4 separate regions of the Homo sapiens genome follow, and regions 2, 3 and 4 are each linked to region 1. The links are contacts of gene promoters, found by promoter capture Hi-C in human tissues and cell types (Jung and others, 2019). All regions are on one chromosome and are shown on one strand. Each heading gives the region's core, a stretch centred on a gene start or on the middle of the fragment in contact. The rest is flanking DNA. Distances are from core to core; before and after follow the strand shown.

The links. The method cuts DNA at HindIII sites, captures the fragments that hold promoters and counts their contacts. A contact is called where the count stands out against the background at its distance.
Region 2: a fragment that was not itself captured here is called in contact with the fragment with the promoter of ZNF551 in region 1 in 1 of the 25 tissues and cell types used here (liver).
Region 3: a contact is called between the fragment with the promoter of ZNF264 here and the fragment with the promoter of ZNF551 in region 1, in 1 of the 25 tissues and cell types used here (liver).
Region 4: a contact is called between a fragment that was not itself captured here and the fragment with the promoter of ZNF551 in region 1, in 1 of the 25 tissues and cell types used here (dorsolateral prefrontal cortex).

What each region holds. Positions count from the first base shown.
Region 1 is chr19:57,680,565-57,683,264 of GRCh38, forward strand. ZNF551 (zinc finger protein 551) reads left to right here and starts at 1,413. Exons shown (of 3, transcript NM_138347.5): 1 at 1,413-1,680. The coding sequence starts at 1,600. RefSeq lists an enhancer at 1,105-1,728 and a silencer at 1,784-1,853. The HindIII fragment of the contact is 9,267 bases long and covers 1-2,700 here.
Region 2 is chr19:57,414,949-57,417,648 of GRCh38, forward strand. All of the region lies in intron 2 of ZNF17 (zinc finger protein 17), which reads left to right. Among named protein-coding and RNA genes, the nearest start is that of ZNF17, 5.1 kb to the left of the region's middle. The HindIII fragment of the contact is 5,457 bases long and covers 1-2,700 here.
Region 3 is chr19:57,190,111-57,192,810 of GRCh38, forward strand. ZNF264 (zinc finger protein 264) reads left to right here and starts at 1,390. Exons shown (of 4, transcript NM_003417.5): 1 at 1,390-1,836. The coding sequence starts at 1,804. RefSeq lists enhancers at 1,226-1,285, 1,306-1,395, 1,406-1,465 and a silencer at 1,636-1,905. The HindIII fragment of the contact is 13,408 bases long and covers 1-2,700 here.
Region 4 is chr19:57,368,493-57,371,192 of GRCh38, forward strand. It overlaps ZNF547 (zinc finger protein 547), which reads left to right. Exons shown (of 4, transcript NM_173631.4): 2 at 52-87. The coding sequence starts at 64. Among named protein-coding and RNA genes, the nearest start is that of ZNF547, 6.3 kb to the left of the region's middle. The HindIII fragment of the contact is 8,803 bases long and covers 1-2,700 here.

The sequences.
Region 1 (2,700 bases), core at 163-2,662:
CTGGGAAAAAAAAAAAAAAAAAGAACTGATAAACAAATTCACCTGTGTAGCTGAATTCAAAGTCAACATGCAAAAGTCAACATGTAAAACTCATATGCCCTTCCATACACTAACAATGAAAAATCTGAAAAGGAAATTAAGAAAACAATATCATTTGCAATAGTAATGTATATGGTCAAATGATCTCAACAAGGCTACCAAGACCACTCAATGGGGAAACGATGATCTTTTCAGCAAATGATGCTGGGAAAATGAAATATTCACATGCTAAGGAATGAAGGTGAACCCTTACCTAACACCAAAAACACAAATGAACTCAAAATGGACTAAAAACCTAAACATAAGACCCAAAACTATAAAACACTTAAAAGAAAATATAGGGTGAAAGTTTTATGACATTGAATTTGGCCATAATTTCTTGGATTTGACACCAAATACACATGTGACAAAAGAAAAATAGACCAATTAGACTTCATGAAAATTAAAACTTTAGTATATCAAACAATAACAAAGTGAAAGAGGAACCTATTTAATGAGAACAAAATACAGGTTGAATATCCCTGAGCCAAAAATCTAAAATCCAAAATGCTCCAAAATCCAAATTTTTTTTTTCTTTTTTTTTTTTTGGAGACGGAGTCTCCCCCTGTCGCCCAGGCTGGAGTGCAATGGCGTGATCTCGACTCACTGCAACCTCTGCCTCCCAGGTTCAAACGATTCTCCTGCCTCAGCCTCCCAAGTACTGGGATTACAGGCGCTCGCCACCATGCCCGGCTAATTTTTGTATTTTTAGTAGAGACAGGGTTTCACCATGTTGGCCAGGCTGGTCTCGAACTCCTGATCGCGTGATCCACCCACCTTGGCCTCCCAAAGTGCTGGGATTACAGGCGTGAACCACTGCGCCCGGCCCGCCCGACTAATTTTTGTATTTTTAGTAGAGATGGGGTTCCGCCATGTTGGCCAGCCTGGTCTCGAACTTCTGACCTCAGGTGATCCGCCCGCCTCGGCCTTCTAAAGTGCTGGGATTACAGGCGTGAGCCACCGCGCCCAACCCCCTGAAATAATATTTGTTTGCCTCTAGGGGCACCCTGAGCTTCGTGGAGTCTGAAATAATGTCTCTAAACACTTAAGTGATCAGTTACGGAAAACACTTCCCAGAAATCTGGGAAAAGCCCCTTTAAGAAGGAGTAAATACCTCCTTCTCCCCTAGAGGCCGAAGTCGCCATTTCCCTGCACGGGGCACAGCACCTCAGAATACAAGTTCGCAGAGGTCAAAGCAGTGGACACACTCCGAAGAGCTCCGTGGAGTTTTGGAAACTACATTATCCAGAGTGCAGAGCGCAAAACGGCGGCGGAGTTGAGCCAATGACAGCCCAGGATAGCAACACTTCCGCGCACGCGCAGCGCGACGGGCCGGAACTTCCGGCGTCCTCCTCGTGGCGGTCATTTTGGCCTCTGTCCTGTTTGTCCAGCCCGCCAGTTTCTGCAGTGGAGGTCGCGACTGAGGGACGGGACAGAGAAGTCGCGAAAGTGGGCCAGAGGTTCTGCGACACCACCTCGGGTGAGCTGCGCCAGGCCCGGGATAGGGACTGTTGTGTTCGAATGCCCGCCCCGGTCGGCCGCCGCTCCCCGCCTAGTCCACGGAGCTCAATGGCGGCAGTCGCGCTGAGGGACTCGGCTCAGGTGAGTTGTGCGTCCTCCGGGTCTCGCCTACCTCCCCCAGCAGAAGCCTTAAGGCCCAGTGAGGGATGCCTGCTCACAGCCCTGCAGCCCAGGCCCCAGTACCCTGGACAAGAAGGCGCTTGTGGATTGGACCCGTTTGTGACGCCCAGTGTGTACGGAAATGTGACGGGCAGTTGACTGGCGCGTGCAGAACTTGGAGCTGCGACTAAGCTGGGGGGGATTCAGGAGCCTGGGGTCCGTCTCGGGTCTGCAGGAACATAGAGTGAGGCAGAGTTGCACCTGACGAATTTGACGATTCTGAGGACACTGGCAGCCTTCGAGATTTGTGAACAGATAGGGACACTGGGCTAGGATTTCCTAAAGCTATCCAAAAGTTGCTCAGGGGAAGAACAGGCTGAAGAGAGGTAATAGTAGTTAGGCATAGGAAGACTGAGTTCTTGTCCAAGCTCACGCAGCTGGTAAAGTCAGCACTGAGAACTGAGGTGCGGAGATAGTGCAGCCAGCCCAGGCCACCTGGCTCCAAAACTGGACCAGGGTCATTGGGCGACCTGAGCCTCGCCACTCGTCTAGCCTTGGGCCCTGAGACTTTGAGCAAATACAAAGCCCAGAGTCTTAAGTCCAGGTTAGATTATATGAAGCTGTTGGCAGCCGGGGGAAAGGAGATGTAGAAGGTTGTCCAAGGCAAAGTTACCAGTATATGCTAAGTTTGGAGAGGAGGCTAAGATAGTTCAGGAACCTACAATTATTTTCTTTTCATGAGAACAGGGAGCAGTGTAGTAGAAGTCAGACCCGGAATGGTTCCCTGAGAAGTTGAGTTGTCTATTCGTTACTTAATAGTAACAGTGGGAGGTTTGGAGTGGAAGAGGGAGGTGATCTGGTTCTGGTCTTATTAGGCTCCCTGTGGCTGCAGCATGGGAAGCCAACTGAAGGATGAGGTGGGGAGACCTGGGAGGAGACTACTGGGATAGGCCAGGTGAATGTGATAGAATGTGATAGGCCAAAATGGTGGCTGTGAAGATG
Region 2 (2,700 bases), core at 95-2,594, 270 kb before region 1:
ATCTGCCCGCCTCAGCCTCCCAAAGTGCTGGAATTACAGGCCTGAGCCACTGCACCCAGCCAGATTTGACCTAGATTCTAAGAGGCTTCCTCTGCCTGCAGAATGGAGGACAGAGTGAGAGTTAGGGAAGAACCAAGGATACCTGGGTGATAATTCCTGCCACAGTCCAGTGGAGGTTGGTGGTGGCTGGACACGAGTGGCGGCTGTGGAGGTGGGAGGGGTGGGTGGCTTCTGTAGGTTTTGATCTAGAGCTGCTCACATTTTTTGATGTACAGAGCGAGGAAGCTCGGGAGGTAGGATGCAAGAGGGAGTCAGGAATGGCCCCATTGTTTTGGCCTTGTTGAGAAGGTTGGATGTTCCAGCAACTAAGATGTGGTAAATTTTGTAGTAGGGGGAGTTTAATAGAGCATATGAAGAACGAGGTTTGGGCTAAGTCAAAAATGTTCCAGAGACTCGAGTAGAGGTGCCAGACTGGCAGTTGAACACACAGGAATGGAGTTCAATGGAGGTGTTCAGGATGGAGACATCTACTATATGATAGCCAGCGTGTACACCATGGTAAATCTGTGGGTCAGATTTAGGAATAGACATCTTTAGATTCTGGAGGCAATGCTGTTAGGGAGAAGGAAGGGGAAGGAAGGGGCTGAGGACTGGATCTTTCTGTTGGGCACCTGGATGGGGTTGCTGGGCATCACAAAGACAGATGAGGGAGTGGATGGACTGAGGATATGTGTGTGTGTATTTGTGTGTTTATGTTGGAGATGGCCTTTGGAAAATAAAGGCTTTTGAGGGGGAGAGTGCACATAAAAGTTGGATGGTGAGGCATCTCCACAAAAGAGGTGAGATGATAGTGAGGTCTGGGAGGGGCTTAGTACCCTATTATGGACTCAACAGGGTTTTGTGGCAAATATTGGTTGTACCTGGGTAGTTTCACGCGAACTCTGAGACTATTTTGGCAGAAGATGGGATCATCTAGAAGCATTGCTAGTCCTGGGGTGGGGATGGTGTTGGGGAGGTCAGTGTATCTGGGCTTTGGATTAGAGTTGGGGGATAGAGAAAGTCGTGACTGCTTATGGGACAACATATACATGTAGAAGGGGGAGACAGCCAAGATCTGGAACTCAAAGGAGGTGTGCAAGAATATGTGGGTTTGGAAAGCTGAGGTCAAAGAAAGAAACAGGATTGGGTTGGGAGACGTTCAAAGCAATGTTTCCTAAACATTGCATTCTGGTCATTCTAGGGGCAAATACGATTCTGGTTGCATTTGTCATGCACTGCAGGATTTCATGTGCAGAGTGGCATGGTAACACGCCATGGAAATACTCCCAGTTGGGCTGTGGTGGTTGTTAGTGTTGCCAAGAGTGGAGGTGTTGGATACATGAGGGAGGTGCCATCCAAAGCCTGAGTGGAGGAGCATGAATAGATGGTTCCACCTCTGGCACTGGGCACTTAAGGGAGGAGGGTGAGTCCAAGTTTGGTTATCTGAGAGGCAAGATCTGGGTGACTCTAGGGAAATTGAGTGACAAAAGAAAGGTAGGCCCCCATGTGCCAGGTGTTTTTTTTGTTTTGTTTTGTTTTTTGAGATGGAGTCTAGCTCTGTTGCCCAGGATGGAGTGCAGTGGCGCGATCTCGGCTCACTGCAACCTCTGCCTCCCAGGTTCAAGCAGTACTCTGCCTCAGCCTCCCGAGTAGCTGGGATTACAGGTGCCTGCCACCATGCCCGGCTAATTTTTGTATTTTTAGTAGAGATGGGGTTTTACTATCTTGGCCAGGCAGGTCTTGAACTCCTAACCTTGTGATCTACCTGCCTCAGCCTCCCAAAGTGCTGGGATTAGAGGCATGAGCCACCATGCCCGGCCATGTGCCAGGTTTTGATGGCGCTTTTCAGTCTCTTTCCCCCACCCATCTTTGTTCTATACTGGAGTCAGTGATCAGTGGCAATGAGGGGAGAGCAGGTACAGGTGCCATGAAGACCTAGTGTCTCTTCCTCCTTCAGAAGTGGGTGGAGGCTAGCAGGGTGTGGATGTGTGTGGGTGTGGTGAGGAGCACTGAAGGTCCTGGAGAGGGAAGTGTATCAGTGATTGTACCCACAGGATTTCAATCTGTGAACAAGAGTGAGTGATTACAGAAAAGCCAATGACATTGAAATAATTTTTTTTTTCAATTGGTGAGAAATCATACCTGGATGAAATGATTTTTATTCCTTTCATTTCCTGAGTGCAGGGAGCATGCCACATCACATAAAGCCACAGAGGAAATAGCGGATTTGGTCAGGTGGCAGATGCACAGTTGAAGGGAGAGCATATATCAGTGGCTTTATTGGGGTTTTGGCTGGAAAGGCATGCAGGGGAGAGTGAAGAGCTTAAGACTGGGTAGTTTGCATGATTTTGGCAGCCTTGGGGTATAGGGACTATCCCTCCTTTTGTGGTACAAGCCTTGTGTTGATTTAGGGCAGGAGAAAGAATCATGTGTGATTGTTAGATAGGAGGCAGTTCAGTCTATGGGATCTGGATTATAAGAGAAATGTTAAAATGCTGGTTGTTATTTTGGTCCTCTAATTCTTAGATTTCAAGTAGATAAATACAGATCTAAGGAAACAGAATAAGAAGTTGCTCATGGGCCGGGCGTGGTGGCTCATGCCTGTAATCCCAGCAATTTGGGAGGCCAAGGCAGGCAGTTCACGAGGTCAGGAGTTCTAGA
Region 3 (2,700 bases), core at 140-2,639, 490 kb before region 1:
GAAACCAGCTCCAGTGTCCCATAGAACTGATATTTATGGTTTCTTTTGAATCAACACATTATAGACATTGAGCCTCCCCTTCCTAAAACTCGAGACACTTTTATTTGTCTTATCTGATTTCCTTTCTCAGGAAACCAAGCATCAGGCCTCCCAGATAGTATAAAGAAACTGAAACTTACTGGATTACCACATCTGGAAAAACGAGATGCTATACCCCTTACCCATGATGATTGCCTAACTGACCATCTGCTGCCTGTTGACCCATTCCTCTTCCTTACCCCTTCCTAATTCCTGTTTTCTCAAACATAGTTACACTTCTTCCCTGATGTATAAACCCCTAGTTTTAGTCAGTTGAGGAAAGAGATTTGAGATTGATCTCCCATTTTCCTCAGCTGCAGCACCGAATAAAGCCTTCATCCCTGACAATACTCATTGTCTTGCTGACTGGCCTTCTGTGCAGCAAGCAGCAGGATCTAGATGCAAGGACCTGGCCTTTCTGGTAATATTGTCATCAACCATTTAATGATGTAGACTTGGTCCCCGGCTCATGCTCTGTGTATTTTCTTCTCCATCTACATGCATTGCCTTGATGGTCTCACTCAATATCATGACTTGAAATAACAGTGTAAGGTAACTCCTAAATTCATATATTCATGCTCAAACCTTCTTCCAACATTCAGTCGTAAGTCGAATTGCCTGTGACAGAGATACTTTGTGGTTCTGTAGACATTTCAAACTAACCATCCTGAGCCTCCGAACCTCCTCCACTTGCAGCCTCCCCACCTCAGAAGTGGGCAAATCCACTTTTTGTGTGGTCTGGGCCAAATACATGACTCCCTGCATCACGTAGAGGCTGTGCTGGTCCAAAGAAGGCTCAAAAGAGGGCAGTTTGCGCACACAACGTGTCGGGGCAGGGCTTCCAGATGATCATTCGGCTTTTTTGTGTCTTCCAAGATGATGATCCGGGGAGGAGGGATGTGAAAGGGGGTCAGTCGCCAGGCGAGCTGAGGACCCAGTTCTGCGCCTTTGCCTGTGCCCTGACCTGAAGGAAAGTCCCTGTCTCCCGAGCTCCGATTTTCCCGAGAGAAGAATGCAATGTAACCCTTGCCCCTCGGTTCCCTCCCTCCATCCTTCCCCTCGAGTTGTGCCCACCGTAAAGAGGTGGGTCTGGAGCGTCTCCTCGGGTCCTGGAGTGCCTTTCCCTGGGAGGAAAACTTGCGCCGTGAAGCGTTCCTCCCGTTGTTGAACACATGAGGAAAACTACACTACTTAGAAGGCTGTGCATTATGCGTACGGCGGGAGCTGGGCCAACGACGGCCTAGGACGGGGACGTTTCCGACGGCTCACGCCGGTGGGGGCGGGACTTCCGGGTTGCTCGCTGCGGACGCCATTTTCTTCTGCACTTCTGTCTGGAGAGGTCTGTAGCCACTGAGGGCCCCGGTCGGGGCCGCTTTGCAGGTCCCTAGTCAGGACCGAGCAGGGGAGTAGGATAGGAATCCCCGCCGCACCTTTGTACGAGCCTGACCCCTTCCGTGGGTTTGTTCCTGGGTCGCCGTCAAGCTGCGGTCTCTCCTCCCCCGCCCTTCAGCCCCGCGGTCTCCAGGGGCGGCGCCCTGGGTCTGGAACGCGGTTGCCACCGAGGAGGCGGCGGCCCTGCGTCTGGAACGCCGTTGCCACCGAGGAGGCGGCGGCCCCGAGCGCGCCTGGAAGCCCCGGGCAACCGGCCAGGGTCGGGCACAGGTGGGGTCCGTCAGGCCGCCCGGGGCTCCTCTGTCCCAGCTCTGCGGCCCAGGGGGTGACGTGATGGCGGCAGCGGTGCTGACGGACCGGGCCCAGGTGAGTGGACGGTGGCTTCGCGGTTGCCGCTTCCTTGCCAGCGCTGAGGCGGTTTCCGAAGTGGGTGGGAGCCCAGGTATCCCCTGGATTTGTCTTCGCAGTCGTCGTTCGCTTTGGTGTGTGGAGCTGGTTTGCCACTTAATTTATACCTGGCCGTAAGGAGTGTTGGGCCTACTGGAAGGAGCTCCGTAGGTTGTTGAGTGAATGATGCTTCCTCTGGGGACTCCCATCATCCTTGGCCTGCAAGCATTCTCTGGTGGACCAGGTCTCATTCCAGCATGAATTGGGGGCCTGAGGGGGGAAGGGGAGGGCAGGGCAGTAGCAAGCCGACAAATGCGCGAGCAGAGACAAGGTATGTTGTATGTTTAAGGAGGCTCAGGAGGGTGTGTAAGGTTGCCATGGTTTTCCTGCGGCCGCTGAGACGTGGAGGGCAACAGTGTGTGGTCTTTTCCTGGATGTTCTAGCCATCCGCAACTACTGCAGACATTGTGGCCAGTCAGATGCCCTTACTCTCATCGCTACAGCCTGCATTATCCTTGGCCGCTCGTGTTCCGTGGCCCCAAAGTATCCTGGCGTCAGAGACAAGTTCTGTCGGAACCCAGTAAGGAAAGAGGCCGATGGTTGGTTCATTGTGGAATTTCCTTGGGGGATCTGGGAGACCCAGGGAGATCCCAGAGGGCATGGGAAGCTGGTCTGGAGCCTGTCGTTCCCCAAGTAGATGCAGCCCTTCCAGTGCCGCTCTGTGGGGTCAGTGAGGAATGCTGAGCTTTTTGTGCCCGTGTTCACATACTTTTTTTTGTTTTGAGACAGGGTCTCACTCTGTCGCCCAGGCTGGAGTACAGTGGTGCACTCTCAGCTCACTGC
Region 4 (2,700 bases), core at 1-2,500, 310 kb before region 1:
GTAAGATCTTCCCATCGTTGCCCATTTCTCACGGTTTCCCTCTTCCTTCAGGGTCCCCTGGCGATGGCAGAAATGAACCCTGCACAGGTGAGTGGAGTGTTTTCTACCTTTCACCTACCAGTTATCTCATAGATGGTTTTGGCACCTCCATGTAAAGAAAAGTGGTGTCCAGAGACTCTCTTTCTGTCTTTCTCCCTCTCTTATGTCTGAAAAGTGAGTGATTCCACCAGTTCTAGTATCTTAAATTAGGTCTGGGATTTTTGTTTGATTGTTTTAAGTTTACTGTGACACCTTACCTGGATGGCCCTGGATTATGTGGAGTGGCTCCCATTTTTGACAGTTGACGTGGTAACATCTGTCAGAGTGTCATGGGCACAAGATTAAGAATGTTTCAGTGTTTAGAGGAGAGACTGAACTGGATTTTTAGGGAACTGCAAGTGTCTGTTATATCGGATAGGAATAGGGAGCAGAGTGGGAGGTGGCTAGAGACACACAAACATCAGGCCTGGAATGACAGCCTAGGTCCTGGGTCTCTAATCTAAGGGAGGTGGTAGATGGGGAAGATTTGAAGCAGAAGAGGGCAGTGATAGGACCCTAGCTTAAGGAACTTTCTTTGGCGTCTGAGTGGAGGACAGACTGTGGAGGTGAGGGTAATGGCAGGGAGATCTGAGAGGATGTTCCTGCAGCAGTCTAGGTGGATGTTGGTGGTGACTTGTCAAGAGTAGCGGTGGCTTCAGGATGTGTTTTGAACTGGAGCTGCCCACATTTTATGATGTAGAGAGTGAGGCAGCTGGGGGGGTGGGATAGAAGGGGAATCAGGAGTGGCCCCATGGTTTTTGTTTGGAAGCATAGATGCTCCATCAGCTAAGATGGGAGAAGTCAGCAGTATTAGGAATTTTCAGAGTGAGTGTGAGGAGTCAGTGTTTGTTCAAGCCACAGATGTCTCAGAGACTCCTGGTGGAGGAGTTCAGGTTGGAGACGTCCACACTATGGTGGCTGTCGTATGGACCAGGATGAAGCCATGGATTCAGTTTAGGTGACAGCATCTCTAGGTTATGGTGGCAGTGCTGTTCGAAGACAGAGAATTGGAATGGGGCATGAGAACTGGGTCTCTTACTGGGTAGCTGTGCAGTGGTGGAGGAGTCACTAGACAAATGAGGGAATGGAGTGTTTGTGGGGATGAGTGTATGTGAGATGGTGGGGTATAGGAGTGAGAAAGACTTCTGAAGGAGAGTGGACATGATGGGGTTGCTGAGGAGGGTAATAGGGTGAGGTCGGAGAGTTGCTAAGCATCAGTTGGAATGAGATGAGGATGGGAATTCTATTAGTCTGTTTTCATATTGCTACAAAGAACTACCTGAGACTGGGTACTTTATGAAGAAAAGAAGTTTAATTGACTCACAGTTCTTTTTTTTTTTTTTTTTTTTTTTTGAGATGTGGCCCAGGCTGGAGTGCAGTGGCACAATCTCGGCTCACTGCAATCTCTCCCTGCCAGGTTCAAGCGATTCTTCTGCCTCAGCCTCCTGAATAGCTGGGACGACAGACTCACCCCACTACGCCCAGCTAATTTTTGTATTTTTAGTAGAGATGGGCTTTCACCATGTTGGCCAGGATGGTCTTGATCTCCTGACCTCGTGATCCATCCTCCTCAGCCTCCCAAAGTGTTGGGATTACAGGCGTGAGCCACCGCACCCAGCCCATAGTTCTTCAGGCTTAACAGGAAGCATAACTCGGAGGCCTCAGGAAACTTACAATCCTGTGTCCATGAGGCAGGACACAGCTGAGAGTATGTGAAGTCCTCACATGGTTTGGGCACCTGACAGTGAAGTGAGAAACAGGGCCATGTAGGGAACCTTCAACCCAGGGCTTAGGGCTGCCCCCGGTGCTAGGGAACTTTGGTGTTCTGGGGCAGGACTGGGAGTGAATTGGATGCTGAGCGTATTTGCCGTGCACCACCTGGTTTCTGTGTGCAGAGTGGCCTGTTAGGAGGTGAAGGAAATGCCTGTGGTGTGGGCTGGGAGGTGTCTGTGGAATTGACTGGAGTGGAGGTGTGAGAGATGGGATTGGAGTGCTGTCCAAAGAGTGATGTGCAGGCAGGAGGAGTGTGAATGGAGGGCCTCAGGCCCTGGCCCTGGTAGCTCAAGGGAGGAGGATGAGTCTGAGTTTGGTTGTCTTGGGAGGCAAGATCTGGGTGACTCCATGGAAACTGGCTGGCAGGAGAGGATGGATCCCCCCACGGGAGGCCCACATTCCTTTTCTACCTTATCTTCCATCTGTTTCCTCTGTGTGCTGGACACGGTGGCCAATGTCAATATGGAGAGAAAAGTCACTCATGCCACCTGGATGTGGTTTCTCTTCCACATTGGGAGGGTGTAGAGATTGAGGAAGGAAAGGAGGTGTAGGGGAGAGGGATGAGTTCCTGGAGAGAGAAAAGTAGCAGTGATTGTACCCATTGGGGTTTTTTGTTTTTTTTTTTTTAGATGGAGTCTTGCTGTGTTGTCACCCAGGCTGGAGTGCAGTGGCATGATCTTGGCTCACTGCAACCTGCACCTCCTGGATTCAAGCAGTTCTGCCTCAATCTCCCAAGTAGCTAGGACTACAGGCATGTGCCGCCATGCCCACCTAATTTTTGTATTTTTAGTAGAGATGGGATTTCACTGTGTTGGCCAGGCTGGTCTTGAACTCCTGACCTCAGGTGAT